2 separate regions of the Homo sapiens genome follow, and region 2 is linked to region 1. Evidence: promoter capture Hi-C in 16 types of primary human blood cells and fetal thymus (Javierre and others, 2016). All regions are on one chromosome and are shown on one strand. Each heading gives the region's core, a stretch centred on a gene start or on the middle of the fragment in contact. The rest is flanking DNA. Distances are from core to core; before and after follow the strand shown.

The links. Contacts are between HindIII fragments. The CHiCAGO score rates a contact against its expected background, and 5 or more counts as called.
Region 2: a fragment that was not itself captured here is called in contact with the fragment with the promoter of ZMYM6 in region 1 in 1 of 17 cell types (M2 macrophages); the score reaches 6.3 in M2 macrophages.

The regions. Positions count from the first base shown.
Region 1 is chr1:35,026,691-35,033,469 of GRCh38, reverse strand. It overlaps ZMYM6 (zinc finger MYM-type containing 6), which reads left to right and starts at 1,525. Exons shown (of 16, transcript NM_007167.4): 1 at 1,525-1,655; 2 at 2,757-2,923. The coding sequence starts at 2,831. LOC124903990 (a long non-coding RNA gene) reads right to left here and starts at 750. Exons shown (of 2, transcript XR_007065739.1): 1 at 313-750. RefSeq lists enhancers at 1,336-1,515, 1,172-1,696, 1,697-2,223 and a silencer at 1,686-1,805. The HindIII fragment of the contact is 24,078 bases long and covers 1-6,779 here.
Region 2 is chr1:35,179,473-35,186,642 of GRCh38, reverse strand. SFPQ (splicing factor proline and glutamine rich) reads left to right here. Exons shown (of 10, transcript NM_005066.3): 10 at 2,050-3,707. The coding sequence ends at 2,187. Among named protein-coding and RNA genes, the nearest start is that of SFPQ, 10 kb to the left of the region's middle. The HindIII fragment of the contact is 2,849 bases long and covers 67-2,915 here.

The sequences.
Region 1 (6,779 bases), core at 276-2,775:
ATGCCCCCATCAGAATGGTTATAATTAAAAAGATATGCAGCAGTAATTATTGGCAAGGATGTTGGGAAACTGAAACTCTCATACATGGCTGAAGGGAGTATAAACTGAAACCACCATTTTCTAAAATTGCCTGAGATTATCTACCTAAATTTTACATATACATAACAAGCAATTTCACTTTTAGGTATGAACCCAACAGAAATGTGTGCATATGTATCACTGTTAAATAAAACTTGTAGGCCATTGTTTCGGGCTAAGCTCCTGCAGTAGGTCTCAATGAACCAGACTAAAAATCAAAATGGAGTCACTCACACTGAGGTTCCATGTCATCAAATGGAAACTACGTTGTTATTTGAAGTTCTGAAAAGTCAGGAAAAAGAGATAATAAGAGTCTAATTTCCCCTGAGTGCCAGTTTCAATTAGCATAATAATGAAATTTCTTCTGCTTTAATCGTTACCAAAAAAAGATAAACTGAAGTTACCTGATGTTAACCAATCAGTTATTTCTCTATTGTTTTGTTTCTTGGTTCTGCTTTACAAGGAAATTAACTTATTTATTTATTTTTTGGAAAGTTACTTTGAAATGAACCAATCTGTTTTTTGTTCTTTACTTCTGCTTTCTCCAGCCCTTCTCTGTCTATAAAACCTACCTCTTCTGCTCAGCTCATTGGAACACTTGTTCTATTTTATGGAATGAAGTGCTGCCAGATTCTAGAATCACAAATAAAGCTAATTGAGATATTTAAATTAAATTTGTTGTAATTTTGTCTTTTAACATCACCAATGACAAGAATGTTCACAGAAGCATTATTCCTAATAGCCACAAATTGGAAACAACTCAAATGTCCATCAGTAGTAGATGATTAAAATTGTATCATATTCATAAAATAGAATACTATACAGCAGTCAAAATGAATGAACAGTCACAAATCATACACGTATCTGTGAAACAATGTTGAATTAAAAAAACCAAATCTCAATTTTGAGCAAGTTTTTTCATTTATATCTCAAGAGATTAAAAAATTATACCTCTTAGGGTTAAATGGTGAGGATTAAGTGGGATGGTGCATGTGAAGTGCTCAGCAAGCCAAGTATTATTTAATATCATGCTCTCTCAGTAGGCCACCTTTCAGGAAATGGGCACTAAAGGATGCTACAGATTAGCTAGGTGTGGTGGCACGTGCCTGTAAGCCCAGCTACTCGGGAGGCTGAGGCAGGAGAATCGCTTCAACCCAGGAGGCGGAGGTTGCAGTTAGCCGAGATTGTGCCACTGCACCCCAGCCTGGGCAACACAGTGATACTCTGTCTCCAAAAAAAAAAAAAAAAAAAAAAAAAAAAAAAAAAAAAAAAAAGAATGCTATAGAGCACTTACAGCGCCTTCTAACGCCATCTCCACCTTTTCACTATTGAGCCTCGGTCTCTTTAAGAAGTGAACCATAATTGAGGAAAGAGGAATGCTGGGAAGTTCTACTCAGCTCAGGTCCGGAGCCTGACGGGAAAAGAGGGCGGAGACCAAGGCTGCGCAGGCGTGGTTGGCCGGTCGTTGCGTTGGGATGGATCAGGCGGAATTCCAGAAGAGAAAATAATCCCTGTCTAGATGCAGAGGACTTGGTTCCTATTCCAGTGCTCCTCCGGTAGCAGGGAGGCGACAGAAGGTGGGTGCGGCCGCAGTGGTAGTGGGCGGGACGGCGGGGCGGAGGCCACACCACGTGACGAGGCGTTGCGGCGGGGGCGGTGCCAGGTGGGCTACGCGGCTGGGGCGGCTGCGGATATCGCCTTAGGGACGCGTTGACATTCACTGGCTAGTCCACCGCTCTCAGTCGGAGACCACATTGCCTCGTTAGTCCTCAATGATGGGAGTGGGAATTCTTGGTGGGAAGGAGAATTTCGGAAAGCGTGCGGTTCTCAGAGGAGGGATGAGCGCCCGTAGATATTTTGTGGCGAGTGCGCAAAAGTTCTCATTTCTTCTTTGGAACAGGCTTTTCAACCAGTTGTCCGTTTCCATCCCGGACTATTCGGATAAAGACAACTTTGAAGAGCTTTTTGTTTTAGGTTTAATTCGTCCCGTTTAGTTCTTTGACTTTTAGGGGAAGGGAATTTACTGAATGGCCAATTGAGTTTCTTTTCTACAGGAAGGCGATTGTGAAGCGGGGCTCTGAGGGGCTTGATGCCCCCCACCCCTCACACGGAGACCTTGAAAGAGGCAGGTGACTCACTTTCAGTAAGGGCGTTCCTGTTGTTCGCCTGCGATGGATGGCATCTTGAGCTCACATCTAGCGTTAGGCCGAGAAATGGGGCCCTTAGGGAGGCTTCCAGTGAAGGTTGAGTTATAGGTCAGGGCCGGGAGGTTGTTGTGCCCCTCTTTGAGAAATAAAAGCCGACGTGGGCCTCTAAGTACTGATTCTTATGGGGTCAGAAACTATTTCTTGAGTCCGTTCTTCTCAGAGTTTATTACTTCCTCCCACGTCTTGGTCTGCTGGTCTAATTCCCTTCAATAACCTTCAACATAGGAAAAAACCAGAGTGTGTTGTGTGTCTTTAAAGATATTAGAGAAGTGGGAGCTGTTGCCCCAAAACTGTTTTCTTATGTAGCTACTGAAGGAACAGAAAGCAGGAAGAAAGAAAAAAGTTAGTTGTGGCCCCAGAAGAGTTGTTTTTCAAATGCCGAGCCGTGAAGCCTCATGCACTCAACACAAAGTTTTTCTTTCATATAGATAAGCCTGAAGAAAAAAGAATAAGCCTGAGTATGTATTTTAGGTGTCCAACTATCCATTACCAAGAAGAAATCTATTCGTTTGAGCCTGAGACACTCTTTGAGGTAAAAAATTAGAATGAAAGAACCTTTGGATGGTGAATGTGGCAAAGCAGTGGTACCACAGCAGGAGCTTCTGGACAAAATTAAAGAAGAACCAGACAATGCTCAAGTAAGCATTTCATCTTCATTTAAAAATTTAAAAAAATTCCTTCTTTTCCATCTGGTCAACTGAAAAATTTTAGTTAAACGGCTTCTGGTTTGTAAGTTTAAAATAACCCAAACTGAGACAGGCTCTCGCTGTCGCTGAGGGTGTAGTGCAGTGGTGCGATCTCCTTAGCTCACTGCAGCCTCCACCTCCCAGGCTCAAGTGATCTTCCCACCTCAGCCTCCTGTGTAGCTGGGACCACAGGGCACACACCAACATGCTCAACTATTTTTTTGTATTTTTGGTAGAGACGGGGTTTGGCCATGTTTCCCAGGCTGGTCTCAAACTCCTGAGCTCAAGCAATCCACCCACCTTGGCCTCCCAAAGTTCTGGGATTACAGGCATGAGCCACCATTCCTGGCTGGTTTTTTGCTCTTTGAATGAAAGCTATAACTACATGATTTTTTTGTGTGTGGAAGGAAAGTAATATATTTACCATTTTTCCATACTTGTCACTTAAAAAAAATTCTCTTGTATCTGGTAGTACTTTCCTTTATTCTGTTAAGAATTTGTGGTCTGTGCTAGTCTCTGGGGATCCAGGATTGAGCAAAGTCAGCTTAGTCCCTTCCCTTGTAGAGCTTATATGTTAGTAGAGGAGGCAGAGATTACAAAAGTATTGGTCAAGTAATATATATAATTACAAACTATGACAAGTACTCTGGAAGAAAAGCCTAAAATGGGGAATCTGACCTAGTTTTGGTTGTGGTCTGCCTGGGGATGGCTAGGGAAGGCCTCTCTAAGGGAAGGATGTGTAAGCTGAATTATGAAGAATGAATTGATTAGGCAAAGGGTATGGAGAAGAGTATTACAGACAGAGGGAACTGTGAATAGGAAAGCCCTGAGTTGGAAAGATGCATGGTTCTTTTTAAGACCTGCAGGAACAGTGAGCCTGGAACAGAAAAGGTATGAAAATGGTGATGATGATAATGATTAAAACAACAACAATAAAAATAGCTGGCATTAGTATATCAGTATGTAGTATATATTATATCATAATCATATGTGACATTATTAACTTAATATTTATATATGCTTAAGAGTGTGTCAGGCACCATTCTTACCACCATATTATTATCCCCATTTTACAGATGAGGAAACCAAAGCTCAAAAAAGCCAAATAGTTTACCACAGATCACAGTTAGTAGTAAATGACAAAGACTGGATTCAAATCCAGGTGGTCAGACTCCAGAACTTGTGCTATTCTGCTTCTCTATGATAAGGCTGTATATATAGTTTAAGGCTGGATTATGTAGGACGTAGCAGACCTTGTTATAAATTTTGGTTTTTATCCTAAGAGCAGTAGATAGCCATTATAGGGTTTTTTGTTTTTGTTTTGAGATGGAGTTTTGCTGCAATGTTGTAATCTTGGTGGCTCACTGCAACTTTCACATCCCGGGTTCAAGTGATTCTCCTGCCTCAGCCTCCCCAGTAGCTGGGATTATAGGCGCCTGCCACCACGCCTGGCTAATTTTTTGTATTTTTAGTAGAGACGGGGTTTCACCATGTTGGCTAGGCTGGTTTCAAACTCCTGACCTCAGGTGATCCACCCACCTCAGCCTCCCAAAGTGCTAGGATTACAGGCGTGAGCCACCACACCTGGCCAATTGTAGGGTTTTAAGTGAGAAAGTAAGATGAAACAGATTTGTGTTTGGAAAGATCATTCTGGCTACCCCATAGGGACCCAGAATGGAGAGCACGGAAATCAATGTGGAGGCTGGGCACAGTGGCTCACGTCTGTAATCCTAGCACTTTGGGAGGCCAAGGCAGGCAGATCACGAGGTCAGGAGATCGAGACCATCCTGGCTAACACGGTGAAACCCCGTCTCTACAAAAAATACAAAAAATTAGCTGGGCGTGGTGGTGGGCGCCTGTAGTCCCAGCTACTTGGGAGGCTGAGGCAGGAGAATGGCGTGAACCCAGGAGGCGGAGCTTGCAGTGAGCCAAGATTGCGCCACTGCACTCTAGCCTGGGTGACAGAGTGAGACTCCGTCTCAAAAAAAAATAAAATAAAATCAATGGGAGAGATGAGTTAGTTGTTTTGGCAAGGAATTTTTCTTCTGGGACAGTTCTTTCGCTTTACACTCAAAGTTATTGACTTTATTGTATCAGCAAAGCAATTATATTTTAAAATAATAAAAAACAATTTTATTTTTCACACCATCTCACAGGCAGTATCATTCCTTTTTTTTTTTTGAGATGGAGTCTTGCTCTGTCACTCCCAGGCTGGAGTGCAGTGGCGCGATCTTGGCTCACTGCAACCTCCGCCTCCCAGGTTCAAGCGATTCTCCTGCCTCAGCCTCCTGAGTAGCTGGGATTACAGGTGTGCGCCACCACGCCTGGCTAATTTTTTATATTTTTGTTAGAGACTGGGTTTCGCCATGTTGGCCAGATTGGTCTCAAAACTCCTGACCTCAAGTGCTCTGCCCACCTCGGCTTCTCAAAGTGCTGGGATTATGGTTGTAAGCCACCATGCCCAGCCACAGGCAGTATCATAAGAAGACAGGGATGTCAGGTAGGTTTTGTTTCACTCATGAACTCTATGCCTTGCTAGAGTGCTGGGCTAAGAAGAGTTCTGAGGTAGTGTCTGTTAGATGTGGAGTGGGGGATGGTGGCATCCATGCTACTTGTTTTCCCTCCAGATGGTAAATTCTTACTCTTTCTCTGCCTAAAGTAACCATTTCTTTGCCAGGTTTTGTGGTTTTTAGCTTTTAAATATTTTTTGTATCTGACCCATGATGTTCTTCTATATTTCATTATTTCTCTCTCTCTTTTTTTTGTTTCCTTTTTTTGAGACAGGGTCTCACTTTGTTGCCCATACTGGAGTGCAGTGGTGTGAGTATGGCCACTGCACTCTAAACGATCCTCCCATCTCAGCCTCCCAGGTAGCTGACCACAAACATGCTCCACCACACCCAGCTAGTTTTTGTAGAGACGGGGTCTCCTTATGTTGCCCAGGCTGGTCCTGAACTCCTGACCTCAAGCAATCCTCCTGCCTTGGCCTCCCAAAGTGCTGGGATTACAGGCATGAGCCATCATGCCTGAACTATTTCATTATTTTTCATTTGGACTTTTATAATAGTTTCCTACCTATTCTCCTTCCTTCAGTCACATATCCCATCAAAACACTCTACAGTGATGCCATTGTACTGTATAGATCGAGTGATATTTCTCCCTTTAAAGACCCTGTTTCCTCCAGTGTGATGAAGCAAAGATCTTTCAATGTGACATCCAAACCATCCATGTTTAGGCCTTTGTTTCCCTCTCCAGTGTCATCATTCATTGTTTCCACCTTTTCAAATCTATGCTGCTGCCAGCTATTTGCAGTTCACTCAAAACTATCTTCTAAAACTCGGTTGCATTTTATTTCCCTGCCTTTGCACCTGCCATTTCTTGTGCCGGTGGAAGAAGAAATAAGCTAGGTAGGCTGGCAAAATTTTGTCCTCTTTTAAGATGAAGTTTCTCACTCACAAGTAGAATGAGCTGTTCTCTCTCTCTTTTTTTTAATTGTATAGTGCAATCACTTTTATTATGGTATCTACAGGTCAATGAATTTTGTCTTCATACTGATTATACTAATCTGGCCATCTCCTCCTCATCTTTCATTGACACACTAGACTGCAGTCTCTCTGAAGTCAGAAATTGGTCTTATTGACCTGAATCTCCAATTCCTAGCACAGGATTTGGCACAAAGTACATGTTCAATAATTGGAATAAAAGAGCCTCTTTCACATATAAGGAAGCTGAACCTGAAGGAATAAGTGACTTCACCAGTGTCTCATGGTAAAACTGGGATACAACAGTTTGTTGTTACTCCAGATGC
Region 2 (7,170 bases), core at 242-2,741, 150 kb before region 1:
AATGGCAAACTCATTCTTTAAGCTGGTATTTGCCATAAGTAGGAATCAGACTTGTAGTTTGAAGCTTTAGGCACGTTTTAGTGATGTGTAGGACTTTGACCTATATTTGGTGTGGCTTCTATCCTATGAAAAGGGAATTGAGTGTTTTGACTCGTCGTTTCCCACCTGTTGGGCCTGTCTGTAGGTATACCTTCTAAAATCAACTGACATCTCCATTTTGCTACAGAGTAGCAAAAATCAACAATTTTTAAGCATACTAATGGTGTGCATTTGATCTGAACCTTCTTGATGCTATCATGTTTCAGCTGTGAATATAGCCTGTCAGATGCTTAGAACAATCAGTTGAACTGGTATGAGTGGCTGCATTAGGGCTTTACAAATCGTTAGGACTGAATTTTGGTGGGTTTAGAGAGTGCATTTTTATAGCTGAGTTGAATGTGATGAGTTCACTACAGGCTTTTGGCAAAGGAGGGGAGCTGCAGTGAGTAGCTCATAAGATTCATTTTATAAATAGAAACATAAGGATTTTGTATAAGGCCTCACCTGTTTATAATCTACCTAAGACTTTTTGGGAATTAAAGTTAGAATTATAAATGGCTGGTTGGGTAAAATGTAATACTATGGGCTTTCTTTAGATTTTTCAGAGTATGTGGGTAACATTTTGGTTTATATTCTTCCTAAAGACAGATTGTTAGGTAATGTGTAAAATCTAATTTGACCTTATGTTCTCACAATTAAAGGTTTATATTCTAGATAACAGGTAGCTGATAGCTCCTGGGTTCTCAGCTGGTGTAATTAACATAATTATGAAAGCCCCAACTTTTTCTTTTTTTTAAGTTCTTAGAGGTAGAACACAGAACAATGAGCCAAAAACCCTGTAATTTATAAGATTTTGAAAAACAAAGGATAAAAGTTTAGTCATGTTGAGTAGCTCAATAGTATTTTGTTTAAAAGAATGTTGAAATTGTGTATAGGAACAGTTAAACCCTGATGCCCTTTTAGTTTTTTATTTGGAGTAATACTCTTAGTAACTGGTCTATTATAAATGGAATGAGAAAAAGTGTAGGCTGCTGTGTTTGCATACCTGAGGGGTCTGCTATTTAGGCACATATGTTTCTATTGAAAACTTCTATCTCCAGAATTACCTAAAACTAGATGGGAATAGTGAAGTCACTCACTGCTTTATTGCAGTTACTTTAGCTTCGTGTTTCACTGTTCGGGAAGTGTCTAAAACATGGAATTACAGCAAAGTGTCTGCACTTTTCAAAGACCTAAGGGAAAAGATGGACTGATGAAGGTGGGTGGGGTTTGTTCATTTAGTTTGCAACAATATAGAATAGTACTGAGAACGTAATTGTCTCTGGTTATATAGTGATGGCTCGGAAGGTAGTGTGCCTGTGAGAATTTGGCAACATAAGTTTTTTTGATCAAGTTACTGTGCCGGTTAAGTGACTAAATCTATAGTCTTATGCTTTTTCTTTTTGTAGTCTGGTAGCATTTTATTAAAACTTTCAACCTTTTAAGATTTCTGCAACTTAGCAGATGTGTCTTAAGATCTTGAAAAGCACAAGGTTTCTTAAGCAGCACATGCCACTAACTGGTGAGTAGGTCTTTGTCACTTCATTGAGTGAATTGAATCTCTGGTTGGGCTTGTTAGGCTTACTTGGAAATTAAATTTCCGTTCAGACGTTGAAAGTGAGAGTTTGCAAGTTTTTCAGTGGGTTAATCTGATGTGAAATTTCTTAGAACTCATTTTGGAATGGATTTTCACATCTGCACTAATTCTTAAATTTTTTAGCACTACAGGGAAGATCTGTTCTTTGAAACAGGTGTATGAGAATGGCTCAAGTGGGAACATACCACAAGGCATGTATTACCGTAAACTAATTTTCAAATTACCCTTTTTTCCTTTCTATGTTCCCGGTACCTGTGGATCGACTCATTGGTGATTGTATCGACGAACGTTGACTACGGAACCTTCTAAAATATTTACTTAACACACATGGACATCAACTACTTATAATGAACTGTTAATTACTGTTCCAATAGCGTACTGAGCGCTTTGGGCAGGGAGGTGCGGGGCCTGTGGGTGGACAGGGTCCTAGAGGAATGGGGCCTGGAACTCCAGCAGGATATGGTAGAGGGAGAGAAGAGTACGAAGGCCCAAACAAAAAACCCCGATTTTAGATGTGATATTTAGGCTTTCATTCCAGTTTGTTTTGTTTTTTTGTTTAGATACCAATCTTTTAAATTCTTGCATTTTAGTAAGAAAGCTATCTTTTTATGGATGTTAGCAGTTTATTGACCTAATATTTGTAAATGGTCTGTTTGGGCAGGTAAAATTATGTAATGCAGTGTTTGGAACAGGAGAATTTTTTTTTCCTTTTTATTTCTTTATTTTTTCTTTTTTACTGTATAATGTCCCTCAAGTTTATGGCAGTGTACCTTGTGCCACTGAATTTCCAAAGTGTACCAATTTTTTTTTTTTTACTGTGCTTCAAATAAATAGAAAAATAGTTATAATATTGATCTTCAACTTTGCCATTCATGCTTCTATGCATATTAGGCTACGTATTCCACATTGAAAGCATGAGAGTGTCTAGGCCTTTGAATGGCATATGCCATTTCTGGGAAATGCATCTGGAGGCTAAGTATTGCTTTCTACAAATAATTGCCCCCTTTGTTTTAAAAAGAAGAAATGCATATTGAAGTAGTTTGATGATTTGTTTGGCATATAGGAAGCACGCTGGTGCTAAGTATTTTTTAAATGGTTATGTAAGCAAAGCTGAACTGTAAATCTTCAGGAATATGTATTAAGATTGTGGAATGGGTGTAAGACAATTGGTAGGGGGTGAAAGTGGGTTTGATTAAATGGATCTTTTATGGCCCTATGATCTATCCTTTACTTGAAAGCTTTTGAAAAGTGGAAAGGTCATTTTGTTGCATTTCCCCATTTCTTGTTTTTAAAAGACCAACAAATCTCAAGCCCTATAAATGGCTTGTATTGAACTTTTACATTTGAATTAAAGATGTTAAACATGAAGTCTTTTCATGTATTCAAGTGATTTATAAAGATGGGGTGTAGTCTAAAAAACAAAACTTGAAAGTAAGAAGGTTTAGTAACTGGGCCGGGCGCGGTGGCTCACGCCTGTAATCCCAGCACTTTGGGAGGCTGAGGTGGGCAAATCATGAGATCAGGAGTTCAAGACCAGCCTGGCCAACATGGTGAAACCCCGTCTCTACTAAAAATACAAAAAATTAGCTGGGCGTGGTGGCAGGCGCCTGTAATCCCAGCTACTCGGGAGGCTGAGCCAGGAGAATTGCTTGAACCTGGAGATGGAGGTTGCAGTGAGCTGAGACTGCCACTGCACTCCAGCCTGGACAACAGAGCGAGACTCTGTCTCAAAAAAAAAAAAAGGTTTAGTACTGAAGTAGGTTTAGTTATATATACATTTGTACTCTGTAACTTTTACATCTCCTTGTGCTACTTCTGTTGGGCAAAATCTATAGGACTATAAAAATCTATTGGTTCTCTTCTAAGAGCTAGTGGTGATTGTTAACAAATAGGGTTGCAGATAATCATTCTTATTGTAAATTTAACTTGTTTTCACATAGTTTCGTTTTCATGTAGCACTAAATCTGGAGAAAGTTGCTCATGCTACACAGTACAAATATCCCTTCCTCCCACCATAAAGGCTTGGAATGTTTCCATGGTGTTGTCAGTTAATTGTCAACTTCATTGAACCCCCTTCCATTAGAACAAGAGACTTTGACTATTAAAGTAGATTGTTTATTGTTGCCTGTTAGTATAATGGGAGCCTGATTTCCCAGTGTAAATATGTTAGAGGAACAGCTTCCTAACAGTAGGTAAAGTAATTGAATGGTTTGGCTTTGTTCTGAGTTACGTTCCATTCAAATCTGTACATTGTAGAATTCTTACTATGGAATGTGTCTTCCTCCTTTTCACCTCTTTTCTTGGTGCTAATTGGCAAAAGAAAAATTCTAAGTCAAACCTTTATTAACATGCTGAAGTTTAGTATTGTGCCTGTGTACAAAAGGAGACCTATTGTTGGAACAATCTGAGCACTTTCTGCATAGGAAACAGGATAATGCTGAAAGTAAACACTAGTGTATAAAAGCATCTCACCAAATACTGGTTGTATGACTGACAGGTACATGGTGTGCTAAGGGAGAGAATCTCATTAGAAAGTAATGCTCATTATATCATTCACCAGCACACTCGGAAATATGAGTAGTTTTACCATGATTATATCAGTGAGGAAGTTTTGTCCCCAAACAGGTTATTAATTGGTGATACATAAGAGATTTTCTGTACGGAAACAAGGGTCTTGATTAGAAAGGAATCCATTACAGTTTGGTTGAATTATATAGTAGGGACTCTACTAAAGACAAGAAAATAAGGGGTGTTCCATGGGACACCCACAGAGGGTGAACTTTGAATGTGTGTGGGTGGGGGCTGGTCGGGAAATGGGAAAATCTGCCTATAAAATTAATGTTTCAGTTTATTTTTCAGATTACATGCCTTTCTTTATAAGGGATGCTGGCACAGACCCCCTAAAATAAGCTTTTGGTAGTACTGTACCTTTGAAGAGTGGTGAAGGATGCTAATGGATAATCTCCTGAAAGTTGTGGCTTTTGATACCCTTACTGTGGACTGTAGAGTTGCTAAACGTTGTTTAGCAAATAATGTTGCTTAGTTTCAAATGACATTTGACTTTCATCACTAAAACAGCAATGTACTCAGGGTTGTAAGCTTACTCAAATAGACTTTCAATAAGTCTTCAATGTATATATGATAGTTTTTAGCCTAATGTGAATTTAAATAATCTTAATAGTTTCCTAAAAGTCGATCTGAAACTTGGGGTGGGAAAGGGGAGGTAGCAATTTTTGAAGTATTTTAGCCATTTTTTTCATTTAAAGAAACCACTTGTCCCCATTTCCTCTTCTCCACTTTCTCATAATTTTGTTTTAAGAGGAACACTGGTTGTTTTTTATACTTCTCCTAATCTTTAAAAACTGCATATTGTTAAGACCCCAGTGTATTTAATAGGTATTTTATAAGCATAGCCCATTGGCTCATGTTAGTGAAACCATAATCCTCTTTGCTTAGAACATTAAACTCATAAGAAGTACTACAAACCCCACCACTCTTTATAGATGTATTGTACCACTAATATAAACAGCTAAAAAATGGGGAAATTGTAATGTTACGCCTGTGCAATTTTTAAGTGGCATATTATGGCAGATTAAAATTTAGATACTTGGCTTTTCTTGGGCAAGCCACTAAGTTGTGGCGGAATGTTTTCTGGTGTTCTTGGACTGCAATTATGCACTATTAAAGTAGTGGCCTGCTACATAACTGCATTTAGCCAGCATTTCTGCAGTGCGTAACTGTGAGGAACGTAGTACCGCAAATGGCAATGGACATTAGGACCCGGATGTAGTATTCCTGCTTGCTCCAAGATTCTCATTGCCGACTGCATACAGGTAGGTAACAAGCAATATAATCTAACTTGGTGACTTGTATGTACTTTTATTCCGTGGGCATTCTGGCATCACATTTCTGACAATGAAATTACAGTGCAGCACCTAACACTTGTATGGTAAAGCTAGCTTACATCAAAACTGTGTGGGTGTGGGGTTAGAGCTGTAATTTGTCAGGCAGAATTCAGTGCTGTTGCAGTTCTCAGATAAAAAGTGCAAACTTGATTCTTTGGTATATCTGACTCAGTTGTGTGGTTTCCTTTAGTTGCATTGTAACTGAAGATAACATGGAACACATCAGTGGTGTGGGGGAGAGGGAACTAAACTATACTTGGGAACTAGGGTGCTTTTAGCACCTTGACATGGACCGTATAGCATGTGATAATTAGTCTCTATTGTAGCAAACTGACCTGCCCATAGATCGGCAATATCAGTAATTTCATTATGCAATCTTGGTAATTCTACAAGTTGAGTTGAACTAAAAGTACAGGTTTTTTTGTAATGCGATTTAAAATTTTTAAAAACATGGGCTTCATGAAAACACCATTGTTACTAACTTGGGCTTAGATGGGAATCTAATGTGAATAGTTCAAGTTATGGGACTTGTCTAAATGTGTCTATACTCTAAACCTGGGGGAAGGTGGTGTGGAACATTGACTTGACTACAGTCGAATACATGTTGGGAATCATTCCCAATCATAAGACATCGTCGTTTCTGTAGGATGACTGCATATGTTCAGAGTAGCTTTTTGAATTTGGTTCCCTTAGCTTTAGGGATGTGATGTTATAGTCCAAAATGTTTACAAGAAAACCTAAGTCTTCAAAAGCACAACTTTTGTTGCTTAGGACTTTGCATCAACTGTTGTTCCAGACCTCACTTCAACTTCTTGGTCTCTGAACTGGTTTTAGCTAGCATGCATGAGAGACAGTTTTCATGTATAATGTTTCTGCTCTGTAACTGGAAAGTGGTTTACTTTGCATAAATGCTGATGAAAACTTCATGACTATGAGACTTTTCTTCTGTGTATCAAGAAAAAGCTTGCTCGTTGGCAAGCAATTCACAAGGTGGGGACAGACTTGTACTTTAACATGTAGTCCATTCAAGCAAACAACTTTGGACTCTACTGATAGATGAAAGAGCAAATGATGACTAGTTTAGCCTCTGCATATCAACAATATAATGCAGATCAAGTATAATGCTCAATATTAGTGACATGAGTATCACTAAATTACATAGAACCCTGATGGGGTTTCCTGTGTCGTAATCCATTAAATCGGTGGCCAGTGCTTGCTGCCGTGGTTTAGTGATTGGGTGTTAGAAATAAAAACTCAGGTCTATTTCTTACCAGTCAGTAACAATTTTTAGAGAATGTACTTGGTATATAATATATGGACTTCAGGAACTTTATTGGGGTGGGGGGTTAATTTTGCCTTACCCTGTTCACTTTCAGATGATTAGGCTTTTGCACTTTAGAATGAGAAACTTGTGACGTTAGTGTGTTCTTACTAGCTTTAATTTGTATGTAGCAATGAATTGTGAATCTTAGTGCAGTGGGTTTTTTTAAAAAACTCAAAAAGCTGGGAATTAAGTGGTTTCAGTAATAATGCTATACCGAGGTGCTTGCATTGTATTTCATAATTTTGTTACAAACCAAAATTATTTTT